2 separate regions of the Homo sapiens genome follow, and region 1 is linked to region 2. The links are contacts of gene promoters, found by promoter capture Hi-C in human tissues and cell types (Jung and others, 2019). All regions are on one chromosome and are shown on one strand. Each heading gives the region's core, a stretch centred on a gene start or on the middle of the fragment in contact. The rest is flanking DNA. Distances are from core to core; before and after follow the strand shown. Region 1 overlaps PPM1E (protein phosphatase, Mg2+/Mn2+ dependent 1E). Region 2 holds the start of HSF5 (heat shock transcription factor 5).

Region 1 (4,936 bases), core at 106-2,605, 460 kb before region 2:
CTGAGGCATGAGAATCGCCTGAACCCAAGAGGCAGAGGTTGCAGTGAGCTGAGATCACGTCACTGCACTCCAGCCTGGGTGATAAAGCAAGACTGTCTCAAAAAAAAAAAAAAAAAAAAAAAGGCCAGGAGTGTGGCTCACACTTGTAATCCCAACACTTTGGGAGACCGAGGTGGGCAGATCACACTCAAGCCTGGGCAACAGAGCAAGACTGTCTAAAAAAAAAAAAAAAAAAAAAAAAAAAACAGGAAAAAGGAAAATAACTTTCTGTTTAACAAAATGGTCAAATGGTGCTGGAAAAATTGGATATCCACATGCAAAATAATCAAGTTGGACCCCTTCCTTACACCATATACAAAAATTAATGCCAAATGCATCACAGACCTAAATGTAAAGCTAAAACTCATAAAACTCCTAAAAGAAAACTCCTAAAAGAGTAAATCTTCATGACCTTGGATTAGGCAATGGTTTTCTTAGCTCTGACACCAAAAGCACAAGCAGAAAAGAAAAAAAATATTAAATTGGACTACATCAAAATTTAAAACTTTTGTATCACAAATCAGTAAAGTGAAAAGACAACCCATAGACTGGTAGAAAATATTTGCAAATCTGCCAGGCATAGTGGCTTATGTCTGTAATTTTGGTACTTTGCAAGGGGGTAAGGTTGGGGCCAGGAGTTTGAGATCAGCCTGGGCAACTTAACAAGACCCTGTCTCAAAACAAACAACAACAAAATAGCTGGGTATGGTGGGCACACCTGTAGTCCCAGCTAATTGGGAGGCTGAGGCAGGAAGATCGCTTTAAGCCCAGAGTCCAAGGCTGCAGTGAGCCATAATCATCGTTATATTCCAGCCCGAGAGACAGAGAGACCCTGTCTCAAAACAAAACAAAAAATTGCAAATCATATATCTAATGAGACTGGTATCCCAAATATGTAACGAATCCTTATATTTCAATAATAAAAAGACAACCCAAAGGCTTTTTTCCAAAGAAGATATACAAATGGGCAATAAGCACATGAAAAGATGTGCAACATCTGTGACATAATTGGAAATAAATATTTGTCCTCCGCCTTGGTTCCTGACACAGAGCCCCTAAAACCCTTTTTATTTCCTGAGTGACGGGGTACTGGAAGCATCTTCTAATATTTAGTCTTTGAACCTGGTTTCTGACATAGAGCTTCTAAATCCCTTGGAATTTCCTGTATAGTCTATGAGTGCCTTTTGGTCTTATGAAGCAGTTCTTGGTGGGCTACTGGATAGCTTCAGGATGGCAACTGGGCATCAGAAAGATCAACCCATAATAAGAGGCCTGGAATATTCAACCCTATTCCCATTTTCTAGGGAAGGGAGAGAGATGGGAGATTGACTTAATAATTATTTGAACATGCCTACGTGATGAAGCCTCCATGCAAATCCTTAAAAGATGGGATTTTGGGAGCTTCTGGTTTGATGAACATAACTATGTGCTAGAAGGGTGGCATACCCCACCTCCAACAGAACCTATTATGTTTGAGACCCTTCCCCTTCAGGACCTCACCCTGTATATCTCTCTTTATCTGGCTGTTCATTTATATCCTTTATAATATCCTTTCACAAACCAGTAAACATAAGTGAATGTTTCCCTGAATTTTGTAAGACATTATAGCAAATTATTTAACTTCGGAGAAGGTTGTAGGAAACCTTGATTTATAACCAGTTGGTCAGAAGTTTGGGAGGTCCAGACTTTTAACTGGCATCTGAGGTGGGGCATCTTGCAGGACTGAGCCCGTTATCCTGTGGGATCTGTTGTAACTCCAGGCAATTAGTGTCAGAATTGAGTTAAATTGTAAGACACCTAATTGATGTCCAGGGAGAAATGGAGAATTGGTTGGTGGGAAAACCCCACACACTTTTAGTGTCAGAAGTGTGTGAGGCTGGGCAAGGTGGCTCACGCCTGTAATCCCAACACTTTGGGAGGCCAAGGCGGGACGATCACCTGAGGTCAGGAGTTCGAGACCAGCCTGGCCAACATGATGAAACCCCGTCTCTACTAAAAATACATAAGTTAGCTGAGTGTGGTGGCATGCCTGTAATCCCAGCTACTCGGGAGGCTGAGGCAGGAGAATCGCTTGAACCCAGGAGGTGGAGGTTGCAGTAAGCAGAGATCATGCCACTGCACTCCAGTCTGTATGACAGAGTGAGACTCAGTCTCGAAAAAAAAAAAAAAAGAAGTGTGTGACTGTACAGAAAAACAGGTTTTTTTCTTCCCCTTTTAACATCATTAGTCATTAGGGAAATGCTAATCAAAACCACAATGAGAAACCATTTCACATCCACTAGGATAGCTATAATAAAATAGCTATAACAAAAAAGACAATTAGTAATAACAGGTGTTGGCAACTATATGGATAAATGGAACTCTCATACATTCCTAGTGGAGATGTAAAGTGGTACAGCTGCTTTGGCACTTCCTTAACATTTTAAACATAAAGTTACCATATGGCCAGCCCAGCAATTCCACTCCTAGGTATACATGCATGAGAAATAAAAACATATATTCACAAAAAACTCATACATTAATGTGCACAGCAGCATTGTTTATAATCGCCAAATAGTAAAAACAACCAAGTGTCCATCACTTGATGGATAAATAAAATGCAATATATTCATACACTGGAATATTAGCCATAAAAAAGAATGAAGCACTTATACATGCTACAGTGTGGATGAACCTTGAAAACATTATGGATAGCAACAGAAGCCAGTCACAAAGACCACTTATTGTAGAATTTATAATTCTATAATAATAATTATATGAAAAGCCCAGAATAGGAAATTTATAGAAGCAGAGAGTAGTGGTAGCTTAGGGCTGGAGGGGTGGTGGGAATGAGGAGTGACTGCTAATAGGTAGGGGGTTTCTTTCTGGGGTGATGAAAATTTTCTGGAACTTAGGGTGACGGTTGAACAACTGTGACTGTATTAAAATCCTTGAATTGTACACTTTTTTAAAAAGGCAAGTCATGTGAAGCAGTGGGAGTAGAGAAGGAACAAAGAAACCTATGACTGGTTGTGATCAGTTAGTTGTAAACTTTAAATGGGTAAATTTTATATTATGCGAATTATATCTCAATAAAGATAATAAAAAAACTACTGACTTTGTCAAGAACTACTGAATAGTGGAAGTGAAAATCAGGCTAGAATGGGTTAATTACTGAGTAGGGGGCAGGGAGGTTTGGCACAGAGGGGAAACAGAGATATGGGGCAGTAACTGATAGGGGATAGGGGAAAGGGAAAGTCTGTTGTTGTTTTAGAATGGTGTAGAATCTGACTGTAGGATGAGGCACATTTCCTTAGTTGGAAAAAGAAGAAAATCAGTACAGATGCAGGTATGTTTTTAGATGTTAGTAGGAAACGACGGGTATTCCCATTTAATGATTTGAGACAACAAATATTTATTGAGGCCTACTATGTACCAGGCACTGTTCTAGTGCTCAGGGTATATATAAACAAAAAAGAAAAAACCCCTGCCCTCTTAGAGCTTACATTCTAAAGAAGGGCTTCTCAATGAAGTATGAGGCAAGATTCATTTTCAAAACTTTCTCACGCATCAGAATCACCTGCAGGGCTTCTTAGCACACAGATTGCTGGGCCCCATCCACAGAGTTTCTGACTCAATAAGCCTGATGTGAGGCCTGTGAATCTTCATATTTAACAAGTTAAATATGAACTCATGCTGCGGGTCTGGGAACCACATTTTGAGAGCCACTAGGTTAAATCACAAACTAGGTCATGAGGGTAGAAAGGAAGGAGGAGGGATGAAGTCAGAGCAGATATGAAATCGTCATATCAGAGAGTAGTAGGACTGTCACACAGTGCTAAGAGACTGTGGGAAGTTTGAGATAATTTTTAAATGAAACCAGTTTTTCTGATGGCATGACTTTTTCATCTATGTTGGCACATGCGTAGGTAGAAAGAACCATTTAGTTCATCAAGTGTCACAAGATTGGCGGTTTATTCGAGGTTCATTTTTGGTTTTTGTTTTATTTGTGTGTTTTTTTTGTTGTTTTGTTTTTTATTTAAGTTTTAGAGAAATGTCTCTGACAAGAAGGATTTGGGGTTTTGCAAGGTAGTACTATAAAGCGAAGAAGAGAAATGGAGATTTGGAATTTTTATTTTTTGAGATAGGGTCTCACTCTATCACCCAGGCTGGAGCACAGTGGCACGATCTTGGCTCACTGCAATTTCCGCCCCCTGCAGATTTGTTATCTTTTTTTTTTAATTCACTTTTTATTTTATTCAATCATCTTTGGCTAGAGATTGCTATCTTTAAAAAAAATTTTTACTTGTTTTTAGAGACAGAGTGTTACTCTGTTTTCCAGGCTGGAGTGCAGTGGCACAATCATAGCTCACTGCAGCCTTGAACTCCTGGGCTCAAGGGATCCTCCCACCTCAACCTCCTGAGTAACTGGGATTACAGAGAGCCACTGCATCAGGCAGAATTGAGTATCTTTTTAAGATACTCAAATCTTTTTTTTTTCTTTTTTTTTATTATTATACTTTAAGTTTTAGGGTACATGTGCACAATGTGCAGGTTAGTTACATATGTATACATGTGCCATGCTGATGCGCTGCACCCACTAACTTGTCATCTAGCATTAGGTATATCTCCCAATGCTATCCCTCCCCCTACCCCCACAAATCTTAAAGAACAGACTTGAGTTGTAAATCAGTGTGGTCTAAATGTAATTAAAGAATTGTAGGTGGGAGTACTTGGGCACAAAATCTAGGGCAGAATGTTGTCGTCTGAGAGCAGGATGCTTGTGTACAAGATTTGTGAGCTGATGCAATTTTTGATAACAAGGTCTAGATGAGTCCAAATAAGTGAGTGGTTCAGGAACATATAAAATGGCAATGCTTACATTCTATGTCTTCAAGGAAAAAAAATTAGAAAATTA
Region 2 (4,830 bases), core at 2,330-4,829:
GTTGCTCAGGCAAGTCTCAAACTCCTGGCCTCAAGCGATTCTACTGCCTCAGCCTACCAAAGTGCAGGGATTACTGGTGTGAGTCACCCTGCCTGGCCAGTATATTGGCATTTCTGATGAACTCTTCCCTCTTTCTGCTTTGACAGAAATTGTGGGAATGTATTTTGTGCTGGATGCTGCCACCTGAAGCTGCCCATTCCTGATCAGCAACTCTATGACCCAGTTCTCGTCTGTAACTCATGTTACGAACACATTCAAGTCTCTCGTGCCAGGGAACTCATGAGCCAACAGCTGAAGAAACCCATTGCTACAGCTTCCAGTTGAATGCCGGGGAGAAACCTGTCCAATTTTAGCAGGTTTGAAGGGAGGATCTTCTTCAGTTGTAGTTTGGAAGGTTCCTTGGTGTGGCTCATGAAATCACAGAGCTCAGAGATACCATCTTGAGAAATCCTCCTTGGTATCATGAAACTGGAGCAGAGGAATTGCAATTTAGCAGGAGGTCCTCTACTGGTGATACCCTCACCTTGGGGTAATGGTCCTAACCCAGACCCAGGGTCTGGAAGCTTAATGTTGAGTTGGTGACTCCAGCCTCTTTCTCCTGGAGGTCACAAGATGATGATTGCGTAGATGTTGCCTGGTGCAAAGTGCCCCAAACAGCAATAGAAAGGCATATGTATAACCAAACTCCAAGTGATAACCAGACCCATCTCTCCTCCACCTTGACAAAAGCAGATTATAGTATACAAGGTAGGAATTCCTGTCCTATTTGAGATGAACTATATCCTGTACCTCTGTGCTCTGTGTCTGCATGAAGGCTCAGCCTTTAGAGGCACTCCTTCTAGTTGCATTAGTACTGTCTTTCTGTGGAGTTTGGTTTGAAGACTGGCTCAGCAAGTGGAGGTTTCAATGTATTTTTCAGTTGGCTCATCAGCCAGCATTGGTGAATATTCAGTTTAGGGGAACAGTTCTAGGGAGTGAGACATTTTTGGGAGCAGAGGAAAACTCTGCTGATGTTCGGTCCTGGCAAACATTGAGTTATTTTGAGCTGTGAAGGCAGTCGTCTCTGTTACACAGTGGCAGCTCTTGAGTTATGCACTGTGAAGAATGAGAAGGGAAAAGCAAAAATTATCCTTGTGAAATATCTGCTGATTGTGCCCTACTCTTTGCACCTGACTTTTCCTAGTTGTCCTGGTGCTAACACAGGAGCTACACCTTGATCCTCTCCTGGCATGAAAATAAAACAAAGGTTTTCGTTGTTGTTGTTCCATTGCCCATTTCCCCCATGTTGTCTTTCCCTTGGCTGATGCCTCCTCTGGGTCACATTGCTTCTTATCCTGAACACTTGACACCTTGAGGGTAGAATTTAGCGTTTGGTTTTTACCTCCTAGCATATGCTGTTTGGTATGTGAGGGTTTCAGTACAAATGCTGCTGTCTATTTCTGTGCACTTAACAATGGAACCCAAACAGAAGAGAATAAAGCCTTGATACCAAAATTGGGAAAGAACATGTGTCCATTTGGACCAAACGTTGTTGGTTTTTAAAAAATTTTATTTTGTTTTTTTGTTTTTGTTTTTGTTTTTTTTCATCTTAATATGTACCAGTGGCACTTAACCAAAAGATACAGTGATATAGCCATGTACTGTGGGTGGGACAGATACAGTCTCCTTGGCCTATAATGAAACCACTAGGACTTTATACAGTTTTCCTTAATTTGTTGACATATAAATGGTAAATTATATTTAGGCTTATCCTGTTTTGAAATGATGGTAGTCATCTTTCTTACTGCTACTTTCATGTTGCTTTCTAGAAAACAGCATTTCATTCCAAAATAACTAGGATCTGCATTTAGAACAAGAATCATTATTTGTCCTGACCTTTTCAGTCCTACAGAGACGCATCTGTGGTTCTTTTGTACTTGCCATAGATGTAACCTAAAAAGTTTTGGCATATTTAGGTCAGCCTAGCGGAACTTTTTTTTTCATTTAAATGGAGCTGAATAATGGAGATTTTGTGTCTGCAAAATTCCTGAGATCATTGAAAAAGTAACAAGCTGTTCCTTGTTTCTGATACATAAAATTATTTTAAGCATTTTATCAATCATTAAAATTTACTGCCAGTTGTGAGTGGCTTTTTAATTAACTTGTCTTTCATTGCACTTCACTCTGCCTGTTTTCAAGGGGAGTAAGATTGGTAACATTTGGGGAGACTGTATCTGTCTACTTAGCGTGGCTGTTTTGAGGGACTGTCCCATCAGTGAACAAACTGCATGGCCTTGGAGAGAGACTCTGGGCTCTTGGCTCAGATGTGTTCATCAAATACTCCTTTCAGAGCTGTTGTGGGTGTAAGTGACATGATGTGGCCAAAAATCCAAACTGTGCAGTTGCGTTGTGACAAACATGCAATGTGCTGTAAAAATTCAATACAGTTTAAATAAAATCTCTATATTAGTGCTGCTTTGTTGGGTCGTTTTATTTTCATTTCTAAAAAAACTTAATATTCACTTATTCTTTGACCATGAGAAGAGTAGAACATTGTACCCCTTTCTCCCAGCAATTTCCAATTTATTTATTTTGAGATGGAGTCTCCCTCTGTTCCCCAGGCTGGAGTGCAGTGGTGCGATCTCGGCTCACTGCAACCTCCGCCTTCTGGGTTCAAGCGATTCTCCTGCCTCAGCCTCCTGAACAGTTGGGACTACAGGTATGCTACCACGCTGGCTAATTTTTGTATTTTTAGTAGAGACAGGGTTTGACCATGTTGGCCAGGCTGGTCTCGAACTCCTGGGTTCAAGCAGTCCACCCAGCTCGGCCTCCCGAAGTGTTAGGATTACAGACATGAGCCACTGCGCCCGGCCAATTTCCGTTTTCAAATGAACCTCTCTTTTTGAATCAGCACAGCTCTTGTTACATTCTTATTTATTGATTGGCTAGGGATCGATTCTTATGGATACCGTAGAATTCTGTCCCATCTTTATTTCTCTTTAATGTCTAAAATGCCACCAGCTAGTTGGGCAGGCACACAAGATAGTACTTAGATTCTTGTGATTCCCTCCTCCTAGGGACCTCAGTTTTCATCTAACCTTGAGTAAATTGTCTTGAACAAATACTGACTTAAAAGAGTGTATCTTAAAAGATACAAAGGGCTACTATCTAAAAGGTGAGTTCGTTTACTCAAGATATTATACCTCCAGTAGCATCATTTTTGTTTGAGAGGTAAGCAGTTCCACTGTTAGCAAAGATTACAGACCAGACCCTTTGGTCCCCAGAACGACCAACTCTGCTGCCTAACGCACACTTTCTCTGCATTCCAAGTCTCCACTAGTTGGCTGGGCCGAAACACACGCCTCTTGGTATTCCACGGTGGATAACTGGGCTTCTCTCTTGTCAGGACTTAGAACACCCCGGCAGACAGCCTTCCCGGCCTGAAGTCTGGGAACGCCTGGGGAAGGGGCTCCTGCCCGGGTCCCGCAGGCGTCCGGCGGGCCGAGCTGGGGCACGCGGCCGCCGAGGGGGAGGTGCCCACGCCGCGTGGCGGGAACTCGAGGCCCCATTGGCCGCGCTGGGAGGCGCCGCGGGGCCTCGTGCGCCAACGGTCCCTGGTACGCGGCGGATGGGCGCCGGCAGGAGCGGGCAGGGCGAGGCGAAGGCCGGGGAGGGATCGAGAACGGTGTGGGAGAGCTAGGCTCGGGGGGCGAGGCCCCGGCCCGGCGGGGCGATGGAGGCGCTGCTCTCCACCCCCATCAACCCCAACAACTTCCCCGCCAAGCTGTGGCGCCTGGTGAACAGCCCGCGCTACCGCTCCATCCGCTGGGACGGCCGCGGCGAGGGGCTGCTTATCGATCAGCCGCTCTTCGAGGCCGAGCTGCTCAGCCCGCCCGGGCCGGGGGGCGGTGGCGGGACTGCGGGGGCCGGGGCCGAGCCCGAGCTCTTCAAAACCACCAGCTTCACCAGCTTCATCCGCCAGCTCAACCTCTACGGCTTCCGCAAGGTGGTGCTGGGCGGGCCGGGGGGCGGCAAACCGGCAGGCAATGGGCCGCTCCATCACTTCCACAACCCGCACTTCCGCCGCGACCAGCCACAGCTGCTCGTGCACCTCAAGCGCCTCACCAGCGCCAACAAGGCCAAGCTGGCGGCCGGCCTGGAGGTGCCCTGCCGCCCGCCCAACCGCTTCCAGCGGCTGCTCATCACCTCGGCCTCCGCCGCCACCGCGCCACTGCAGCACCAGCAGCCGCCGCCGCCCGCGGGGCCCCGGCCCGAGCCGCACGGTGAGTCCGGACTGCCCGTGCCCTCGCCCACAGTGGGCACATGGGCGGCGGGGAGCAACCGCCGCTGGAGGGCGCATTTTCGCACGTCCTCACGCTATGGGCGTCGGAAAGGCGCCGGGGACCCATTGGCCGCTGTGCTTCCCGAGACTGGCGGTCCCGCCACCGCCGCCGTTCTCAGCGGCACCAGCACGGTGGCCACCGGCCCTCCCCTGGAGGGTCCGTAAGCATTCGGCCCCTTCTGAGCCCACTGGCAGCAAAAGGGACCTCCGCCTCTTAGGCTCCCTTCTACTCGTCCCCGGTTTGAACCCCAGGAGTTTACCTGGTTGTAAGCCTCCGTTTACCTTCCTGAGACCCACACTGTCCACTGTAAACATGTGGACTCAGTAGTCCTTCGTTGAAACATTGGGTCTGGAAGAAACAAAAGGGGCTCCTTTGCTCCCGTGGGAAGCAGAGTGGAGTCACCCTACGGGTTAAGGCGGGATGGAACAAAATCGTAGTCAAGAGAATTTAGAACATTACGGTTGGGCGTGGTGGCTCACGCCTGTAATCCCAGCACTTTGGGAGGCCG

The links. The method cuts DNA at HindIII sites, captures the fragments that hold promoters and counts their contacts. A contact is called where the count stands out against the background at its distance.
Region 1: a contact is called between a fragment that was not itself captured here and the fragment with the promoter of HSF5 in region 2, in 1 of the 25 tissues and cell types used here (lymphoblastoid cells).

Annotation. Positions count from the first base shown.
Region 1 is chr17:58,942,420-58,947,355 of GRCh38, reverse strand. All of the region lies in intron 1 of PPM1E (protein phosphatase, Mg2+/Mn2+ dependent 1E), which reads right to left. Among named protein-coding and RNA genes, the nearest start is that of TRIM37, 160 kb to the left of the region's middle. The HindIII fragment of the contact is 4,077 bases long and covers 1-3,393 here.
Region 2 is chr17:58,487,157-58,491,986 of GRCh38, reverse strand. It overlaps HSF5 (heat shock transcription factor 5), which reads left to right and starts at 3,579. Exons shown (of 6, transcript NM_001080439.3): 1 at 3,579-4,262. The coding sequence starts at 3,713. It overlaps MTMR4 (myotubularin related protein 4), which reads left to right. Exons shown (of 18, transcript NM_001378067.1): 18 at 147-2,450. The coding sequence ends at 324. RefSeq lists silencers at 3,868-3,917, 4,178-4,297. The HindIII fragment of the contact is 20,222 bases long and covers 1-4,830 here.